Regions from separate parts of the Homo sapiens genome. Here regions 1 and 2 are each linked to region 3. The links are contacts of gene promoters, found by promoter capture Hi-C in human tissues and cell types (Jung and others, 2019). All regions are on one chromosome and are shown on one strand. Each heading gives the region's core, a stretch centred on a gene start or on the middle of the fragment in contact. The rest is flanking DNA. Distances are from core to core; before and after follow the strand shown. Region 1 overlaps DAG1 (dystroglycan 1). Region 2 overlaps ATRIP (ATR interacting protein). Region 3 holds the start of P4HTM (prolyl 4-hydroxylase, transmembrane).

Region 1 (3,893 bases), core at 176-2,675, 540 kb before region 3:
GGAGCAGAGACTAGAATCAACTATTCTAGAATAGTGCTTACTAAAGGAATCCCAAGGAGCTCTGGTCTCTCTAAAAGAGAGAGGTTCTACAGTCAATCAAGTACAGGAAATACACAGAGACCTCTTCTGCCCTTGGAGAGACCAGGCACAGAAGCAGGCCTAAGGAGCTCATCACCTTATTCCAACTCAACAGCATCTCCCAGACTTCTTTTGTTGTGGAAGTCCCTTTCCACAGAGATATAACTGGTCATACTCAGAGCACCCAAGGAAATGCCACCATAGAAACCTCCACCAACAGCTGACAAGAGGAAAATATGACTTAGCTCTTGCCCCAGCCCCATCTGTGGCTCCTTTCACTTTTGGGAAACACCTACTCCTGCCCCAATGCAAGAAAAGTGACACCCCCCATTCTCTGGTTGGCCTGAAGGCACTCTCATCTCCATTGTCCTATAACAAGTACCAGAGACAAATTGGCCAAAACACAGTACATCACACTCCCAGACTCAGCTTAGGACTGCCCTTCATGACCACTGCTTATCAATAGGGGGACCCTAAAATGCTTCCCCCTCCCTGTGGCAGGAAAGCTAAAGCCACTGACTGCTGGATTCCCCAGTGCCTCTGGTTCCCTGGGCTTCCTCCTGCCAAAAAACAAAGTACTTGAGTGATTTGGAAAGGAGACCCCAGGCTTGTACCCAGGTGTCCAGGCAGCAGCCTTATCAGAAACTAGATAATTTCCCCCCTTTAAACTAATTTAAACAGGTTTCCTACACCCAGCAAAAATGTATGAGAAAGCTGGGCATGGTAGCTCATACCTATAATCCCAGTACTTTGGGAGGCCAAGGCGGGAGGATTGCTTGAGGCCAGCAGGCATTAGAGACCACCCTGGCCAACACAGTGAGACCCCCATCTCTATTTCAAAAAAAAAATTTTTTTTAACCATGAGATTACTGACATTGTTAGGAATTATTATTATTGGGCCAGGCATGGTGGCTCACCCCTGTAATCCCAGCACTTTGGGAGGCCAAGGTGGGCAGATCACCTGAGGTCAGGAGTTCGAGACCAGCCTGGCCAACACGGCGAAACCCCATCTCTACTAAAAGTACAAAAATTAGTCGGATGTGGTGGCAGGCACCTGTAGTCCCAGCTACTCAGGAGGCTAAGGCATAAGAATTGCTTGAACCTGGGAAGCGGAGGTTGCAGTGAACTGAGATCACGCCACTGCAACCCAGCCTGGGTGACAGAGTGAGACTCCATCTCAGAAAAAAAAAAAAAAAAGGCGTTATTATTATCAGGGTTATCATTTCCTAATTGCTCTCTGAGCCACTCATTAAGGGTTAGCAAATAGTGTTTCTTTTGTGATACCACATTGCATCAACTCTAAGATGTGCCATCATCTAATTAAGAATCTCCCACCCTGTCACTCACCATCAAACATCAGAAATGTTAAAACATCTGTAAACATGGGTGTCTTCAAATTCATGAAAAATGCTAAATATATTTTTCTTTAAAAATATTTTTTAACCATAAAAATCACACTTATTGGCTGGGCGTGGTGGCTCATGCCTGTAATCCCAGCACTTTGGGAGGTTGAGGCGGGTGGATCACTTGAAGTCAGGAGTTTGAGACCAGCCTGGCCAACATGGCAAAATCCCGTCTCTACTAAAAACACAAAAATTAGCCAGGCATGGTGGTGCACACCTGTAGTCCCAGCTAGTCGGGAGGCTGATGCACAAGAATGGCTTGAACCCAGGAGACAGAGGCTGCAGTGAGCGGAGACCACACCACTGCACTCCAGCCTGAATGACAGAGTGAGACTCTGTCCCAAAAAAAAAAAAAAAAAAAAAAAAAAATCACACTATTTCAAATGTTTTGGCTGAAAAATCTAAGCTTTACATTTTTCAGTTCATTTATATTAAATAAAACTGCCACATCCGTATATAAACACATAAAATAAAGGTTGAATGCTCTTGTTTTGCAAAAACAAACAAACAAAAAACCACCATGAAGCAAATAAGTAAGGCCCATGAGATGTTTTACAGGAGTGGGATAGAAGTAGGGGTCCTGAGAGGTGGAGAGTAGGTGAATTAGGGTGTGGACCCCGGTTTTTGGTCACCTGAGGGTTATTTCCTAACTCTACTCCATCCCAATGGCCACCAGTAGGACACGAGCTCACATGGCAGAGGGAGGATGAAGAAAGGTGACAGGGAAGGCCTGGAATAGAGGTCTGGGTAAAGCCAACTAAGGAGAAGCCAACTGCAGAGGAGACTGAACAAGGTTGAGAGGGACTAGAAGAAGGGAGCCAAATGGCTGGCTAGAACCATGGGACATTCCTGAGTGGCTAGGCGCTCCATCAGTGTTGATAAGTCAGCAACCTGTTGCCTCTCCAAGTCTGTCTTCAACTATACAAGGGCACTTTTTTTTTTTAGACAGCGTCTCACTCTATCACCCAGGCTGGAGTGCAGGGGCGTGATCTCGGCTCACTGCAAGCTCCGCCTCCCGGGATCACGCCATTCTCCTGCCTCAGCCTCCCAAGTAGCTGGGACTACAGGCGCCCGCCACCACGCCTGGCTAATTTTTCGTGTTTTGTTGGTTTTTTTTTTTTTTGAGACAGAGTCTCGCTCTTTCGCCCAGGCCGGACTGCAGTGGCGCTATCTCGGCTCACTGCAAGCTCCGCCTCCCGGGTTCATGCCATTCTCCTGCCTCATTCTCCTGTAGCTGGGACTACAGGCGCCCGCCACCGTGCCCGGCTAATTTTTTGTATTTTTAGTAGAGACGGGGTTTCACCGTGTTAGCCAAGATGGTCTCGATCTCCTGAGCTCGTGATCCGCCCGCCTTGGCCTCCCAAAGTGCTGGGATTACAGGCGTGAGCCACCGCGCCCGGCAATTTTTCGTATTTTTAGTAGAGACGGGGTTTCACTGTGTTAGCCAGGATGGTCTCAATCTCCCGACCTCGTGATCTGCCCACCTCGGCCTCCCAAAGTGCTGGGATTACAGGCATGAGCCACCGCACCCGGCCACAAGGGCACTTTTTAACAGAAAATAGAGAAGGGCCCTGCCTTCTCAAGGCTTCCCAGCCTGGCTCACTTCCTATTCTGCTGACCCCAACAGCCAAAGTTCTGCTATCAGGCAGTTCCTACAGAACAAACTCAGGCCATTCTATAGGAAGGCTCCCACAGCGAAGCCATCCTTGAAAGCCATACACTTATTTTAACTATGCCAAGTAACTTAAAAACATGTTAATATTATGTAACAAACAATAAACACTAAAGAAAACGTCAGGTTTCACCAAAGCAAGTTATAATGCTCAATTTCAAATTGGGAGATGGGAGATGAGAAATGAGCTTTATTTTGACTACTGAGAACAAATTCTTTCACAATTTATTTAATTTTATTTATTTATTTATTTTTTGAGACAGAGTCTCACTCTGTCACCTGGGCTGGAGTGCAGTGGCACGATCTCAGTTCACTGTAACCTCTGCTTCCTGGGTTCAAATGTTTCTCCAGCTTCAGCCTCCTGAGTAGCTGGGACCACAGGTGACTGCCACTATGCCCGGCTAATTTTTTTTTTCTTTTTCTTTTTTTAGAGATGGGATTTCGCCATGTTGCCCAGGCTGGTCTCAAACTCCTGGCCTCCAGTGATCTGGCTGCCTCAGCCTCCCAAAGTGCTGGGATTACAGTTGTGAGCCACTGCACGTGACCAAATTCTTTTACTATTGTCTACCCATGGCTTTGCAGCCATGTAAAGTTTACCCATGTCTTTGGGGCAAGTCATGTCAGAAAAACAGAGCTTATATGGTTCACATCTGTGTCACTGCCCAAATCTCATGTCAAATTATTATCCCTAGTGTTGGAGGTGGGGTCTGGGGGAGGGGACTGGATCATGGGGGTGATTT
Region 2 (2,862 bases), core at 88-2,587, 530 kb after region 3:
AGTCACAGAGAAGCCTTCCAGGATGCACACTGAGTCCTCAGGGTTGGTCTCTACCCCAGAGCTCACGCAGGAGGAATGTGTCGGTGAGTCCCCAGGTGCTCCGCTTCTCTTAGCAGCTGCCAAGTCCTGCAGGGCCTGGCAGTGTAAGCCGATGAAGAACTGTACAAGGGGGAGGAAATGCACGGCTCCAGGAAGCTGGCAGAGTGGGAAGGCCCTTCTGCCTCCCTCTGCTGGGTCTCCATCACGTGAGCACTCATTCCGGGCAACCAGATTCAGTCCAGTGAATGCCAGGTTCTGTGCTTCTCTCAGGGCTGAGAGGGAAAATGACCCATCATAAGAACCTGTGGTCCTGAGGCCTGACATTCCAGCCAAGGTACTGGCAACAAACACAAAGAAAAATAGATTAAGTGTGGGATGGAGATAAGGTCAAGAGCCCCAAACAGCCTGCCTGCCAAATTCTCCAGGCTGCCTGCCCTTCCCACAGACTTCTCAGGCTGGCCAGGGCCAGAAAGGAATTTGCTTCCAGGAAGCTCCTTCCCAAACAAGCTTTCCAGGAGTCTTATGCTTACCTGCCAAACCCTGGTGGCTGCAGGGGGGTGCCAGCAGGAGACTCAGAACTACTACTCAGGAGGTGGCAAAGGCTTAGGGATGACCCTGGGATCAAAGGCTGCTTCAGGAGCAGGTTTATCAAAATGGAACCTGCAGAAGACAAGATGACTCTAGAAGGTTCTGACATGGGAGATCTTTTCGGTGGCTTTCAGAAGGAAACAGTAAGGATTCTTTGGATGCCAACTGTCCTCTAGGCTGCCACTAAGCCCCAGGAAGATGCCTGTGGGTGCGGAAGGCTCTGGGACATACCTGCCCTTGGCCCTTTCCACTTTATAAAGTCTTCTGCTTAAGCCACATACTTTGACTTCCCTGGACTCTCTGAAGGACTGCCCGGGGCACCGGTTCTCAGAGGCCTGGGCAATTCTTCTGCATATTACTCAGAGCCATGCAGGCCCCTGCAGGAGAAGCAGGGATTCTGGTACCTTGAGTGTTTGATCTCTGTCTCCAGCTGTCAACAAAGCTTTTCTGGGCCTCTTCTTGTTTTATGGAGTCACCTCTCAGACTGTGGGGCTTACTATCTGAAATGTGATAAAATGTAAATCAAAACTTGAGCCCAGAAGCATGGGCATATTAGAAACTTTTACATGCAATGAGTTTAAAACACACGCTGTTCTACTTCTTCGAACTTGGAACAAACAAGAGCCAAAGCGGCTCAAGAGCCCTGCATCTTTTACCTTCCTTATGTAAAACAGGAACTCATACAAGGAAAGGAAAAGAAAATCAAGCTGTTTGCCTCACTCAAAATGAGGCAATTAGATAAAACAGTGACCACTAACATTGACATGGTGCTTGTTACGTGCTAGACAGTGTTTTAAGAGCTCTATACGCATCAGCCCATTTGTTCCTCAGTGACCCTACAAGGATTTATCATTAGGTCTGTTTTACATATAGGGAAACTGAGGCACAGAGACTAAAGGACTTGCCCAAATCATATAAGCCAGTTAACAGCATTACTGGGACTCACATCCAGGCTACTGGGCTCTACTGCCTGCTTGTAACACTACTGTACACTGCCCCTTTAGCTGCTAGATGCCAAAAATGTAAGTGGGCTACAGTTTCTCAGAAGTGTTATGATGGCCAAGGATTTGAAAGGTTGATGGTAAGAAGAGGGTCAATGTATCCGATTTATAAGATACACTGACATAGCAGTCTGAAAACCTACTGATGTTAGATTGTCTCTCTCTAAAAAACAGCAGATCCCCTCAATCTGGACTGAGTTATAAAAACTCAAAAGCTGGACTACAAAAGGAAAACAGAGGCTGGGCACGGTGGCTCATGCCTGTAATCCCAGCATTTTGGGAGGCTGAAGTGGGTGGATCACGAGGTCATGAGATTGAGACCATCCAGGCCAACATGGTGAAACCTGTCTCTACTAAAAATACAAAAATTAGCTGGGTGTGGTGGCGCATGCCTGTAGTCCCAGCTACTCGGGAGGCTGAGGCAGGAGAATCGCTTGAACATGGGAGGCAGAGGTTACAGTGAGCCGAGATCACGCCACTGCACTCCAGCCTGGTGACAGAGTGAGACTCCGCCTCAAAGAAAAAAAAAAAAAACAAGAAAAGAAAAACAGATTCCTGCATACTAGCTAGGTTTTTGGCATGGTCAATTGATGCTGTGATGGTTTAAAAATATGCCCACAAGCATGATGGCAGGTGCCTGTAATCCCAGCTATTCGGGAGTCTGAGGCAGGAGAATCACTTGAACCCGGGAGGCGGAAGTTGCAGTGAGCTGAGATCGTGCCATTGCACTCCAGCCTGGGTGACAGGGTGAGACTCCGCCTCAAAAAAAAAAAAAAAAAGGCCCACAAATGCTTTGACACAACTCCCCTTCAAAAGGTATAAGCTTGGGAGGAGGGGGGAGGGATAGCATTAGGAGATATACCTAATGCTAAATGACGAGTTAATGGGTGCAACACACCAACATGGCACATGTATACATACGTAACACACCTGCACGTTGTGCACATGTACCCTAAAATTTAAAGTATAATAATAAAATAAAAATAAAAAATAAAAATTAAAAAAAAGGTATAAGCTTGGTTTCTCCCCTTGAATGACGCCCAGACTCAGTGATTTGCTTCTAACAAATACAATGTGGCAGAGGGGATGCTGTGTGACTTCTGAGGCTAGGCCATAAATGGATAGCTTCTGCCTGGCTCGCTCTCTCTGGATTTGCTAGCTTTAGAGGAAGCCACCCACCAGGTTAAGAGGATACCCCATATCCATGTGCAGAGGCCCATGTGGCAAGAAATTA
Region 3 (3,495 bases), core at 368-2,867:
GGTTTGCAAATATGTTTGTCACGGAGGCCAGGTACCCAGGGCTGGGCTACACAAACACCCTGGACAATGTCCATGGGACTAGGGGTCCCCACCCAGTTGACACTGGTGGTCTTTGAAGGACTCTGGGGTCTTCACAGCTCGCACTGTGGCTTTACTGCATAGGCCTTAGAGGCAGGCTATGTGGGTTCTAATCCTAGCTTCACCACTGAAGTAACCGTGTCAGCCTGGCCAAGCCACAGCAGCTCTCTGTCCCTAACTTTCCCCCTCACTGGCCTGAGTAGGATCTACACCCACTTCACAGAGGGGTTGCAGGAATTAAATGAAATAATCATATGAAGGCAAGCACATAACTAGAGCTCAGAAACGATGAGCTATGTTGTGGCTCCAACTGGAGTCACCCTAGAAAGCTTTGCCCATGATGGCTGAACAAAGACTTCACCTTAAGAAGAATCTCAGAGTGCTGGCAGCAAAAGCTGAGCCTCTGACTGGTACTCCAGTGGAGGAGGCTGGGGGGGTACCAGTTTATCTACATTTGGACGGCCTGCTTCTCATCAGACCACAAGGCCCACTTCGGCAGTGGGATTTTCCCCAGAGGTCCTGAGGTCGGCAGAAAGCTGGTTATCAGTCTCCCACCTTCCTCCCAGTTCTAGAAGGTGACAGAATTAATGGTGGCACGGAAGACAGGTGCAATGAAACGTTTAGACACCAGCCTCAGGCTCACCCTGCCAGCCCTGTGATGGAAGAATGGACTGCAGGGAGTTGGGATAAGAGGGAGTGTTACCCTATTTCGAGGACGGGGAAGGTCCTTCACTTTGGTAATCCTCTGGAAGGGCTGCTCTGAAGCAGCCATTTTCAAAATAGAGGTCACGTGGTCACAACGAGCCTCAAGGTGGCCACCAAACCGCAGCCCCTGGCCCTTCCCAGGAGTATCTGGCGGACTTACCGAAGAGCAGCGGCTTGAGGCTGAGGGTTCGGATGAAGTGATCCCTGTCGGTGACCAGCTGGACCTTACGCTCGTGCCCCACCTAAGGAAAAGGCGCACAGCGGGCAGCTGGGGCGCCAGACCGCGCTGCCCAAGAAGGGCCAAGTCGCCCCGGCCCGGAGAGCGACAGCAGGCGAGTGAGTGGGAGCGCGCGGGACCGACGCAGAGCAGCGCCGGGGGCAGCGTGGGGACCCGGGCTGAGCGCCGGTCCTCTCGGGCTCAGCCGTGCAGGGCCTGGAGCGCGGCGGGGCAGGGAGGTCCTCACCTTGATGCCCTCCAGCCGGGTGAGGGGACCTAAGGTGGGCTCGGGCCCGGGGCCCTGGGCACGGTGTTGGGGCCCGGGATCGCTGCTTTCGTCGCCGTTGCTGTAGTGCACGAAGAGCAGCAGCGCCAGCACGTTACCCAGGTACAGGTGCACGAACACCATCAGCACCAGGAAGTAGGCGCGCGAGCAGATGCCGCGGGGCTTGCACAGCGGACGCACCGGTGCGTCCTCGCCGTCGCCCAGCCCGGCCGCCGCCTGAGCCTGGCAGTGGTCTGGCGGCGCCCACTGCGGCCTCGAGGCCTCCTCGGCCGCCGCGGTCTCAGGCCGCTGGCCTGTCACCGCCGCTGCCGCCATGGCACCCAGGTCGCGCGCGCGCCCAGGGGAGGGGCCGCGGGGGTGCCCGCGCTGCGCAGTCGCCCGGACAACGGCCGCCAGGCCCGCGAGCGCCGCGGTCACTAGGAGACGGTGCCTGGGGGTGCTGAGCCCGCCCGGAGCCGCCTGCGTCCGCGCCGGGCTCGGCCTTCCTGCGCCTTGAGCCCCAGCCCACGCTGGGGCTTCTCTTCCCAAGCTGGGTTGCCGTCGGGCAGAGCTGTACACTCTCCAAGTCAGAAGCCAAGGTCCCAAGCGTAGACGCGGACAAGAGCGGCACCATTAAGGCATACACTAGTGGGAGCTTCTCGGTGCCTGCGTGAAGACGCCCTCTTGCCTCCGGGAAAAGTATCGTCTGCATCTTCTTGCTCCAGGAGCGGGGGTGGGGAGCGCAGCGCGGAGGAGGCAGCGCTGAGATGACTCAACAGTGCGGCATTTGGGGGCGCCGCGGAGGCTGGGACTGCGTAAGCGGCGATAGGGTAGGACCCACAGCCTCCTCGCAGGCATTCTTGGAGCTCGGTTCCGCGGTCGGTCCGGATCTCCCGGGAAGTCTCGCCGGAGTCAGGCAGGCCTTAGGAAGAAGCTGCCTGATGTGCAAGGTTTCATAGGCCGTCAGAGGGGGCATCCTGGAGGAGCCCTGGCATCAGGAAAGTGAGCCCCCCATGGCAGCCCGCAGGAATGAACCAGTGCTCAGGTATATGGAACACTCCTTGCATCAAAGCTGGCACGTGTGAAGAGGCGGGAAGGGACTCTTCCATAACTGAGACACCATTACCTCAGAGAAAAATTAAACAGATTATCACCAAAAACGGGGGTGGGGGGAGGACATACCTACCAGTGGTCAAGTGCCAAGGCATCCCTGCTCTTCTAGAGCTGGTTATCCTCAGGAAGAGATTACTACACGCCCTCAGGGCAGAAGCTGACCCCCCTCCCCGAGGTGGACTTGCAGGCAAGAGCAACACTTTTAAGGCAGGTCACACTGGTGGTTTCTCCCTACCCTGGTTAAGACCCCCACTACCTCTACTCCCATCTCCTCTCCCTTCCCCATAGCAAAGCATAGTCTGCATTTTCTAGTCCCCTCAAGTCAAGGCAGGCCAGGGGCTCCAAGGGCAGGCCCACCTCTTTCTTCTAAGATTTTTTGTGTGTGTGTGACGGAGTCTCACTCTGTCGCCCAGGCTGGAGTGCAGTGGCGCGATCTTGGCTCACTGCAACCTCTGCCTTCCGGGTTCAAGCAATTCTCCTGCCTCAGCCTACCAAGTAGCTGGCATGCGCCACCATGGCGGGCCAATTTTTTTTTTTGTATTTTTATTTATTATTATTTAGTTTTAATTTTTTAATTATAATTTTTTTTTTTTTTTTGATACAGAGTCTCGCTCTGTCGCCAGGCTGGAGTACAGTGGTGTGATCTCAGCTCACCGAAAGCTCCGCCTCCCGGGTTCAAGCAATTCTCCTGTCTCAGCCTCCCAAGTAGCTGGGACTACAGGTGCCCGCCACAATGCCCGGCTAATTTTTATATTTTTAGTAGAGACAGGGTTTCACCATGTTGGCCAGGCTGGTCTCAAACTCGTGACCTCAGGTGTTCCACCCACCTTGGCCTCCCAAAGTGCTGGAATTACAGACATAAGGCACCACACCCAGACCAAATCTCCTAAATTCTTAAATATAATAAACCAACCAACAGAACCATAATTTTACCAAGGATCTCATGGCTTTCTCATACCTTTTCTGGAATGAAGTTGAGACTATTTCCCTCTAGCCTTTTTTTTTTTTCCCCGAGACAGAGTCTTGCTCTGTCACCCAGGCTGGAGTGCAGTGGCTTCATCTCGGCTCACTGCAACCTCTGCCTCCCGGGTTCAAGCAATTCTCCTGCCTCAGCCTC

What was found. The method cuts DNA at HindIII sites, captures the fragments that hold promoters and counts their contacts. A contact is called where the count stands out against the background at its distance.
Region 1: a fragment that was not itself captured here is called in contact with the fragment with the promoter of P4HTM in region 3 in 1 of the 25 tissues and cell types used here (aorta).
Region 2: a fragment that was not itself captured here is called in contact with the fragment with the promoter of P4HTM in region 3 in 1 of the 25 tissues and cell types used here (dorsolateral prefrontal cortex).

The regions. Positions count from the first base shown.
Region 1 is chr3:49,526,233-49,530,125 of GRCh38, reverse strand. The region is part of intron 2 of DAG1 (dystroglycan 1); the gene reads right to left. Among named protein-coding and RNA genes, the nearest start is that of BSN-DT, 26 kb to the left of the region's middle. The HindIII fragment of the contact is 3,693 bases long and covers 1-3,271 here.
Region 2 is chr3:48,457,624-48,460,485 of GRCh38, reverse strand. It overlaps ATRIP (ATR interacting protein), which reads right to left. Exons shown (of 13, transcript NM_130384.3): 6 at 1,032-1,127; 7 at 570-699; 8 at 1-376. It overlaps ATRIP-TREX1 (ATRIP-TREX1 readthrough), which reads right to left. Exons shown (of 15, transcript NR_153405.1): 6 at 1,032-1,127; 7 at 570-699; 8 at 1-376. Among named protein-coding and RNA genes, the nearest start is that of TREX1, 7.2 kb to the left of the region's middle. The HindIII fragment of the contact is 6,156 bases long and covers 1-2,862 here.
Region 3 is chr3:48,988,363-48,991,857 of GRCh38, reverse strand. P4HTM (prolyl 4-hydroxylase, transmembrane) reads right to left here and starts at 1,617. Exons shown (of 9, transcript NM_177939.3): 1 at 1,248-1,617; 2 at 944-1,025. The coding sequence starts at 1,601. It overlaps LOC124909376 (a long non-coding RNA gene), which reads left to right and starts at 1,986. Exons shown (of 2, transcript XR_007095903.1): 1 at 1,986-2,310. RefSeq lists enhancers at 645-1,206, 1,864-2,023, 1,771-2,333, 2,334-2,897 and a silencer at 1,374-1,753. The HindIII fragment of the contact is 19,056 bases long and covers 1-3,495 here.